2 separate regions of the Homo sapiens genome follow, and region 2 is linked to region 1. Evidence: promoter capture Hi-C in 16 types of primary human blood cells and fetal thymus (Javierre and others, 2016). All regions are on one chromosome and are shown on one strand. Each heading gives the region's core, a stretch centred on a gene start or on the middle of the fragment in contact. The rest is flanking DNA. Distances are from core to core; before and after follow the strand shown. Region 1 holds the start of LINC01531 (long intergenic non-protein coding RNA 1531). Region 2 holds the start of HAUS5 (HAUS augmin like complex subunit 5).

Region 1 (4,999 bases), core at 885-3,384:
GCTGACAAGGACAGTGTGGCTCAATGTGGGTTTCTGTTGTCAAGATACCACAAGGGCATGGAACCAGAAGGGGGCTGTCAGTTTCTGACTGGCTGCAGCAGCTTATCAGAACGTATCACAGATCAGGAGAGGACGATATGATCAACGGATGAGGTAACCATCAGCTGAGGGCAAACAGCTCCTAACTAAAGTCAGCACTTTACAGCTGGCTCCAGTGCACTCTCCCTGTGGCTGCAGGCAGAGCAGCCAGGGCCCCTCCTCCAGCCTCCTCCCACCTCAGAGCTTCAGAGCTTCAGACATCCTTGGTGCTGAGGCCTAGGTTCCATGAGGTCAAAGGGAGAATTCAGGCCGGGCACAGTGGCTCACGCCTGTAATTCCAACACTTTGGGAGGCCAAGGTGGGTTGATCACCTGAGCTCAGGAGTTCGAGACCAGCCTGACCAATATGGTGAAACCTCATCTCTACTAAAAATACAAAAATTAGCCAGGTGTGGTGGTGAGTGCCTGTAATCCCAGCTACTCAGGAGGCTGAGTCAGGAGAATGGCGTGAACCCAGGAGAATGGAGGTTGCAGTGAGCCGAGATCGCCTCTGCACTCCAGCCTGGGCAACAGAGTGAGACTCTGTCTCAAAAAAAAAAAAAAAAGGAGAATTCAGACTAAGCTGTTTTGCAGCATCCCAAGGCTGTGTTGACCTCACGTACAGCTGCATCATGGGAGTGGGCGGTGCGACATCTCAAGTCCAACTCAACCGAGCCATGGTTCAGGCTAAGTTCCCGCTGGTGCCCCTACCTGGAACGCTCTTCAGATAGTGGCTCCTTCTCACCCATTCAAATGTCCCAGGCCTTTCCTGACAGGCCCTGCCCATCTCTCTCTCTCTCTCTCTCAATTTCCCTGCTTGCTTTTTGTTGTTGTTGTTGTTGTTGTTTGATTTTTGGTCCTTTTTTTTTTTTTTTTTTGAGGCAGAGTCTTCCTCTGTCGCCCAGGCTGGAGTGCAGTGGCATGATCTCGGCTGACTGCAATCTCTGCCTCCCAGGTTAAGGTGATTCTCCTGCCCCAGTCTCCTGAGTAGCTGGGATTACCAGTGCCCGCCACCATACCTGGCTAATTTTTGTATTTTTAGTAGAGACAGAGTTTCACCATGTTGGCCAGGCTGGTCTCAAACTCCTGACCTCAAGTGATGTGCCCGCCTCAGCTTCCCAAAGTGCTGGGGTTACAGGCATGAACCCCACCACGCCTAGCCGATTTATTTTCTTTCCCTTTTTTTTCCCCCAGACAGGACCACTGGATTGGAGTGGTGCCATCATAGTTCATTTTAATTTCCAACTCCTAGGCTCAAGTGATCCTCCCGCCTCAGCCTCCTGAGTATCTAGGACTACAGGTGTGCACCACCATGCCTGGCTAATTTTTTATTTTTATCCTTTTTTGTAGAGACAGGGGATCTCACTATGTTGCCCAGGCTGGTCTCAAACACCCAGCCTTAAGCAATCCTCCTCCTGCCTCAGCCTCCTAAGTAGCTGGGATTATAGGTGTGAGCCACCATGCCTGACTTTTTATCTCACTTTTTGTAGAGACGGGGTATCGCTATGTTGACCAGGCTGGTTTTGAACTCCTGGCCTCAAGCAGTCCTCCTGCCTGGGCCTCCCAAAGCGTTGAGATCACAGACGTGAGCCACCTTGCCTGGCCTACTTCCTTTCTTCCTGTAAAATTGCCTTGTTGGTTTGTCTACTTGTTTTCTGTTCATCCTGTTCACTCTTGTCTCCAGCTCCTAGAACAGTACCTCACACAGAGTAACGGCTCCATGTGTTTTGTGACAGGGAAGCAGACAGTGTGGCTTGTTGGAGAGGAGCCACATACCCCCGCCCCCCGATTCATACATGGTGTGACTCAGCCCGAACCATTGCTCAGTTGAGTTGGATTTGAGATGATGCACTGCCCACTCCCGTGATACAGCTGTGTGTGAGGTCAGCACAGTCTTGGGGTGCTGCCAGACAACTTAGTTTGAATTCTCCCTTTGACTCATTGGAACCTAGACCTCAGCACCAAAGATGTCCCCATACCAGTAACCCGGGCAACAGAATGCAGATAAAGGACAGGAGACAAAAGGCGCAGGTTCTGACACATTCTTTGCTTGTGTCATCAGCTAGCAAGTATTCACAGGCACATCCAACCTCCATCCTTACATTCCACAAGGATTTGAGTGTCTGTTATAGGCAAGGGACAATGCTAGGTTTTTTTTTCTAAAAACAAACTTGGGGCTGGGCATGGTGGCTCACACTTGTAATCCTAGCACTTTGGGAGGCCAAAGCGGGTGGACTGCCTGAGCTCAAGAGTTCGACAACTCTTGGTAACATGGTGAAACCCCGTCTCTGCCAAAAATACAAAAAATTAGCCAGATGCAGTGGCGTGCACCTGTGGCCCAGCTTCTCGGGAGGCTGAGGTGTGAGGATCACTTGAGCCCGAAAGGTGAAGGCTGCAGTGGGCCGCGATTGCACCACTGAACTCTAGCCTGGGCAACAGAGTGGGACCCTGTCTCAAAACAACAACAACAAAATAAGAAAGAAAGAAAGAAAAAGCGGAAGTGAGAGATGGATGTGCGTGTAGTCGTGTGGGATAATTGCCCATGGGAAGGAAACAGAATTCAACCTCTTGGAATGTAGGGGGAGGAGGAAGCCTGAAAAAACTGTTCAAATTTGGATTCTGGGCTGAGCACAGTGGCTCACGCCTGTAATCCCAGCACTTTGGGAGGCAAGGCAGGCGGATCACTTGAGGTTCGGAGTTCGAGACTAGCCTGGCCAACATGGTGAAACCCTGTCTACAAAAAATACAAAAATTAGTCGGGCGTGGTGTTGCACACCTGTAATCCCACTACTTGGAAGGCTGGGGTAGGAGAATCACTTGAACTAGGGAGGCAGAGGTTGCAGTGAGCTGAGATCGCACCACTAAACTCCAGCCTGGGTGATAGAGCAAGACTCTGCCTCAAAAAAAAAAAAATTGGACTCTGGGTGAAATAAGTCTGTTGGGGACAAAATCTGGTGGGAGACCCAGAAGGTCAAGCTGCTTTAGAAAGAGCTCAACCACTGACTTTCCTCTTTTTGACCACATGACTCTTCCAGGTATAAAAGCCTGCCGTTGGTGGAAAAGGAAAAGGTGGTCCAGTTAGACAAGATGCCACCGGCTTCTGAAACCAGACATCTTTGAAAACCCACCCATCTACCTGCAGGAAAAGGCAAGGGACCTGACCTCGCCTGGGCTCAGGGAAGAGGTTGCTGGGATCATAACCCCAGGAAGAGACGGGATGGAAGGAGAGCATGCAGGGAGCAGAGGACAGGCTACTCTCCAAGGAGGAGAGGGAAGAGGCCACAGAAATGGAAAAGGGGCCAGGACAAGTCAGTGGAGAGATGGTCAGGGCCTGGCGAGGAGGAGCAGGACAAAAGCGGTGGAGCTCAGCCCCGTGGCGGCAGGGCCACTCCCATTCATCTGGTCCTCTACTTCTGAAGTTCTCGAATGCAGAATGAGATGTACAGATGGGCCAGCAGGTGATATGCTATCTGTCATAGGTTAAGGCCTCATTATTTTATTCATTTTTAAACTTTTTTTTTTTTGAGACAGGGTCTTGTTCTGTCGCCCAGGCTGGTTTGCAGTGGTGCCACCATGGTTCACTGTAACCTTGAAGCCCCTGGGCTCAAGTGATCCTCCTGCCTCAGCCTCCAGAGTAACGAGGACTACAGGTGCACACCGCCATGCCCAGCTAATTTCTTAACGTTTTGTAGAGAAAGGCTCTCACTGTGTTGCCCAGGCTGGTCTTGAACTCCTTGACTCAAGCAATCCTCCTGTCTTGGCTTCCCAAAGTGTTGGGATTACAGGTGTGAGCCACTGCTCCCAGCCACAAGTTTTATTTTAAATGTTTACCTTTCAATGATCACTTCGAGGAGATTTAAGCTTACTCTTTCTTTTTTTTTTTTCTTGAGATGGAGTCTTGCTGTGTCGTCCAGGCTGGAGTGCAGTGGTGCTATCTTGGCTCACTGCAACCTCTGCTTCCCAGGTTCAAGTGATTCTCCTACCTCAGCCTCCCGAGTAGCTGAGACTACAGGCATGTGCCACCACTCCCTACTAATTTTTGTATTTTTAGTAGAGTCGGGGTTTCACCATGTTAGCCAGGTTGGTCTCGAACTCCTGACCTAAAGTGATCTGCCTGCCTCAGCCTCCCAAAGTGCTGGGAGGCATGAGCCACCATGCCTGGCTCATTGTCTAGTTTTTACCAAGAAGATGATGAGATATGCCAGAGGGCTCCGTATCTGCTATGAGAACGTCCCCCAAGAGCAGCTGGCCGTGGTGCTGCAGCTGGAGCTGTGCTTGGAGCTCTTCTTCACCCCCATGGCGGTCACCACCTTCTGCCACTGGCACTTTGTGCAGATCATGCTCTCTGGCCCCAAGTGGGGACCTGGAGGTGCTGAAGAGCCAAGAGACTGGCTGCCGTGACCCTCTTCAACTTCCTGGTCTGCTTGGACCCTGTGCTTTGTCTCCCATGGTGGGTTCCCCCAGTGGAAGAGTCAAATTGGTGGGCAGGCGCAGTGTTGTTCAGTGCTCTCGATGCTGCATTGACCCCTTGATTTTCTTTGTTTTTGTTTTTATTTTGTTTTGTTTTGTTTTTGAGATGGAGTCTTGCTCTGTCACCCAGGCTGGAGTGCAGTGGTGTGATGATCTTGGCTCACTGCAACCTCCGCCTCCTGGGTTCTCCTGCCTCAGCCTCCCGGGTAGCTGGGATTACAGGCACCCACCACCACACCCGGCTAATTTTTGTATTTTTAGTAGAGACGAGGTTTCAACCCCTACTCAGGCTGGTGTCAAACTCCTGACCGCAAGTGATCTGCCCACCTTGGCCTCCCAAAGTGTTGCAATTACAGGCGTGAGCCACCATGCCCAGCCTAACCCCTTGATTTTCTGTTTCTCTTCCTCCACCGTGCGCAAAGCCTTTGACAGAGGGCCACGGAGGTGGCAGC
Region 2 (4,860 bases), core at 1,232-3,731, 210 kb after region 1:
AAGTGAGACCAGGTGCCTGCAGTGAGCTACTGAGACGCAGGTGACAGTCACAGCAGTTGCATTATCAGGGAGTTTCCTATGGTCATCTGAACTTCGAGGGAGGTTTTCTGGGGCCGGGCATTCCTTCCTCATTCCCATTTACCTAAATTGGCCCATCCTTGTCTGGTAGGTCAGCACCCAGCAGAGGCTTCTCCCCATGCACAGCACTGTGAGGTTCAGGCACCTGGGCACAGTAACCACAGTGATTCCTGGAAGCTGGTGGGCATGCTATCCTGGGGCCATCTGAACTGGGAAAAGCTGTGTGAGTTCTTGGGGGCCAGCTTGTAGCCTTTTTGGCTGGGGCCAGGTTGAAGGTCTTCCTGGGAACCAGAGTCAAGAGCGGCCACTTACATTAAGCGGATAAAGCCCACGACTTTCTTGAGCTGCTTGACAGCTGTACCAAAAAGGCACAAACCCATTGAGGATATTATGAAACATGAATACAGATGATTATTTTATTTTGGTTTGGTTTTGTTTTGGCTTTGAGACAGGGTCACCCAGGCTGGAGTGCAGTGGTGCCATCATAGCTCACTGAAGCCTCAACCTCCCAGGCTCAACTGATCCTCCTGTTTCAACCCCCCAAGTAGATGGGACTACAAGCGTGCACCACCACGCCTGGCTAATTTTTTTTAATTTTTAATAGAGACAAGGTTTTGCTGTGGTGCCCAGGTGGGTCTCAAATTCCTAGCCTCAAACATTCCTCCCACCTCAACCGCCCGAAGTGCTGGGATTACAGGCATGAGCCACCACGCCCAGCCATTGCCTTATAATTTTTTACTGATGTCAGATATTGTTAATTTTACAGTGTTGGATGCTGGATTTTTTTTAATCTCTATAAATATTCTTGAATTTTGTTCTGGAATGCAGCTAAATAATAGCTTGATCCTTTCGGGCCTTGCTTTTAAGCATGGTTGGTTAGTCAGCATCAGAGAAGTATTTCATCTAGGGCAGGGGCAGGGGTCTCCAAACCCCAAGCCGTGAACCAATACAAGTCCATGGCCTGTTAGAAACCAGGCTGCACAGCAGGAGGTGAGTGGCGTATGGGTGAGCATCACTGCCTGAGCTCCACCTCCTGCCAGATCAGGAGCGGCATTAGATTCTTACAGGAGCGCAAACCCTATTGTGAACTGTGCATACGAAGGATCTAGATTGCGCACTCCTTATGAGAATCTAATGCTTAGGCGGGGCATGGTGGCTCACACCTGTAATGCTAGCACTTTGGGAGGCTGAGATGGGCTGATCACTTAAGGTCAGGAGTTCAAGACCAGCCTGGCCAACATGGTGAAACCCCGTCTCTACTAAAAATACAAAAATTAGCTGGGCATGGTAGCGGGCGCCTGTAATCCCAGCTACTCAGGAGGCTGAGGCAGTAGAATCGCTTGAACCCCGGAGGCAAAGATTGCGCTGAGCCGAGATCGGGCCACTGCACTCCAGCCTGGGTGAAAGAGGGAGACTTCACCTCAAAAAAAAAAACAGGGAAGAAAAAAAAAAAGAGAGAGAGAGACAGAGAATATAATGCCTCACGACCTGAAGTGGAACAGTTTCATCCCGAAACCATCCACTGCTCCCACCCTCCATCCCCCAGACTGTGGAAAAATTGTCTTCCATGAAACCAGTCCCTGATGCTCAAAAGGTTGGGGACTGCTGGTCTAGCGCAGACCTCTCACACCTGCTGTGTCCCAAATTGACCCACCCCTGCTGCTTATTTTTACCACCCCTACCTGGTGGTGCGTCTGTCTCCCCACTCAACTGTGAGCTCCGTACAATAGGGACCAGGGCTGTTGTGGTCACCATGGTGTCCCCAGCATCACCCAGCACAGGGTCAGCTCCCTGAGTTTATGGAATGGTAAGCACGAATGAATGGGAAAACGCATGCCAGGGAAATGTTAGGGTCATGCTCTCTGCCCCTACCCTCCACTCAGACATGAGACACCTGTTTCTGAAATCAAAGAGCAGTAAGTCCAGGATCTCATTGCCTGGTTCCAGTCCTCCTAGGACGCAAGTCCCATTTTGTCAAGAAAATAAAGGGGGTGAGCGTGGTGGCTCACGCCTGTAATCCCAACATTTTGGGAGGCCGAGGCGGGAGGATCGCTTGAGCCCAGGAGTTCAAGAGCCCAGAAGCTGAGACTAGCCTGGGCAACAAGTGAGATCCCATCTCTATTAAAATAAAAGTGTTTAGTTAAAAGAAGAAAAAGAAAATAAATGGAAGCATCAAGGACTGTTTTGCCTCTTTCGGGTTAGCTGGTAGTGAGCGGGAGAACGAGGGAAGGCGGGCGGGGCTGCAGTCTCTCCACGCCCTTTTCATTTCCACTCAAGGAGACCTACCTGGGAAGAGTGAGCGCTGCAAGACCCAGCCTGACCGCGCTAAGATTACTATGCAGCGCCCGAGCCCGCTGTCTGCCCGGCAACCGATGACGTCACTGTTGGCGCGCCCGTGACGTCAGAGGCGGGCGCCACACTTGAAGAGGCTGAGGGAGGCGGTGTCGCCGCCGCGGCGCTGTCATGGAGCTAGCGCAGGAAGCGCGGGAACTGGGTTGCTGGGCGGTCGAAGAGATGGGGGTGCCCGTGGCGGCCCGGGCCCCGGAATCGACGCTGCGCAGGTGAGGACCGCTCCTGGAGTGAGGACACCCCACCCTGGAGATTGAGTCTCCGGGAGTGAGAACTCCACCCCTCATTGAGGACTCGACTCCCCCCAATTCCCCATCGAGAGTGACCCGACTTACTGAGGGCTCCCTACCCTGGGAGGCTCCCCAGAGTGAGGTCCCTAGCACTGGTGAGGATCCTCCACGAGTTAGCTAAGACCTCGCTCCTTATGGAAATAGGATCTCCAGAGTGAGGCTGTCCCCGCAGCACCTCCCCTCCCTCCCTTAACCTAACCAAGAAGGACACTCAGGAGTTAGCCGTGGCCACCCCATCGGGGATTGAAGCTGTAGGAGTGATGCCCCACGTCTGGTCATGAGATGGCACTTCCTGGCAGTACATCCCCCACCTCCACCTCTGGATGTGACTGGGATAACCCACTCCCAGGAGAAAGGGAGCACCCGCCTCTCCCGCGCTCCCCCACCACCCGCCTTCCCAGGGAATGAGAATAACACCACACTTAGTGCAAACATCCAGTCCCTACAAAAAAAATGTTTTACCAATTAGCCGGGTGTAGTGGTGCCTGCCTGTAGTCCTAGCTACTCTGGAGGCTGAGGTGGGAGGATCGCATGAGCCCAGGAGGTTGAGGCTGCAAGGAGCTATGATCGTACCACTGCGACAGAGCGAGACTGTCTCTTAAAAAAAAAAAAAAAAAAAAGGCAAAAAAAAGTTTGGGCCTTCCCTCCTCAAGAAGTGAGAACTCCCTAGTAAAAACTCCCTACCACCATCACCCTAGGAATGAGGATCCCACACCCTGTGTGCTGCCCCAGGCATATGCTTACACACTGTCCCCACAGGCTGTGTCTGGGCCAGGGGGCTGACATCTGGGCCTACATCTTGCAGCATGTGCACAGTCAGAGGTAAGCTGGGCTAGAGCAGGGGAGGGGGCACAGGTGAGGCCCATAGTAACTCCTCTTTCTGCCTCTGCACTGTAGGACTGTCAAGAAGATCCGGGGAAACCTACTCTGGTAACTGCTTCTTAAAGCTATCCCCTCCTGTCTTCCCCACTCCCATTTAGCCCTGTCCCCACCACAGCATCACACCTATTGCCCTCCCCCCTAGAAGCCCCACTCATCCGCTGACTCTGGCCTCGTTTTCCTAGGTATGGCCACCAGGACAGTCCACAGGTGAGAAGCATATGCTACAAGATTCTCTTTCATCCGAAAAATGACTTGTAGATCTTCTGCTCTAAGCCCAACCAGGTGCTGGGTGATGCTGGGGACAATGGGTCACAAGACAGCCTTGATCTCCATCCTCATAGGGCTTAAAGTCCAGTGGAAACAGCATTAGCTCAGCCAGGTGCAGTGGCTCACACCTGTAATCCCAGCACTTTGGGAGGCTCACCTGAGGCCTCATCTCAGGTGATGAGATCACCTGAGGGCTCCAGGAAGCGATCAGTACTGGGACAAAGATGTGGTTTGGGAGGCGGATCACCTGAGGTCAGGAGTTCGAGACCAGCCTGGCCAACACGGTGAAGCCCTGTCTCTAATAAAAATAAAAAATTAGCCAGGCGTGGTGGCACACGCCTGTAATCCTAGCTACTTGGGAGGCTGAGGCAGGAGAATCGCTTGAACCTGGGAGGCAGAGGTTGCAGTGAGCTGAGATCGCACTACTGCACTCCAGCCTGGGCAATAGAGCGAGACTCTATCTCAAAAAAAGAAAAAATAAATAAAGAGCATTAATTAGCTGGGCGCAGAGAGGTGGGACCTGGATATGTGGCATCAAAGCTGGTGAGAAGAGATGATGGGACAGGTATGGGAGAGATGCTGAGGCCAGTGTGGGACCCAATGGGTGCAAGGGGCTCATATGACACCTAAGGGGAGGCTTCCAGGAGGCCTTGGGACTTCTAGGTGCAGGGCTCCGGGAAGAGATCAGTACTGGGACAAAGATGTGGTTGTCACCAGCACAGACAGGAAACAGGCTGGAAGTGTGGGTAAGACAATCCTAGGAGGAAGGAGGGAGGGAGCCAATACCCTAATGCTTCTGTGTCAGACACAGAAACTGCTGAGCAAAAACCCTCTGCCACCAGTTGAGGAGCCTGGTACCCCCAAAAGACAGGCCAGGCTGAGCCCCGATCAGACCATCTGACCCTGAATCTGATCCTCCCAGGTCCGTCGGAAGTTAGAGCTGGAAGCTGCTGTGACCCGCCTGCGGGCAGAAATCCAGGAACTCGACCAGAGC

Evidence for each region. Contacts are between HindIII fragments. The CHiCAGO score rates a contact against its expected background, and 5 or more counts as called.
Region 2: a contact is called between the fragment with the promoter of HAUS5 here and the fragment with the promoter of LINC01531 in region 1, in 5 of 17 cell types (M0 macrophages, M2 macrophages, M1 macrophages and 2 more). The highest score is 10.2, in M0 macrophages.

The regions. Positions count from the first base shown.
Region 1 is chr19:35,403,473-35,408,471 of GRCh38, forward strand. LINC01531 (long intergenic non-protein coding RNA 1531) reads left to right here and starts at 2,135. Exons shown (of 5, transcript NR_040046.1): 1 at 2,135-2,209; 2 at 3,113-4,999. The HindIII fragment of the contact is 14,783 bases long and covers 1-3,936 here.
Region 2 is chr19:35,610,254-35,615,113 of GRCh38, forward strand. It overlaps HAUS5 (HAUS augmin like complex subunit 5), which reads left to right and starts at 2,482. Exons shown (of 19, transcript NM_015302.2): 1 at 2,482-2,639; 2 at 3,477-3,539; 3 at 3,615-3,647; 4 at 3,782-3,806; 5 at 4,789-4,860. The coding sequence starts at 2,542. It overlaps HAUS5-DT (HAUS5 divergent transcript), which reads right to left and starts at 2,411. Exons shown (of 2, transcript NR_186318.1): 1 at 2,365-2,411. RefSeq lists enhancers at 2,216-2,771, 2,360-2,619. The HindIII fragment of the contact is 7,658 bases long and covers 1-4,860 here.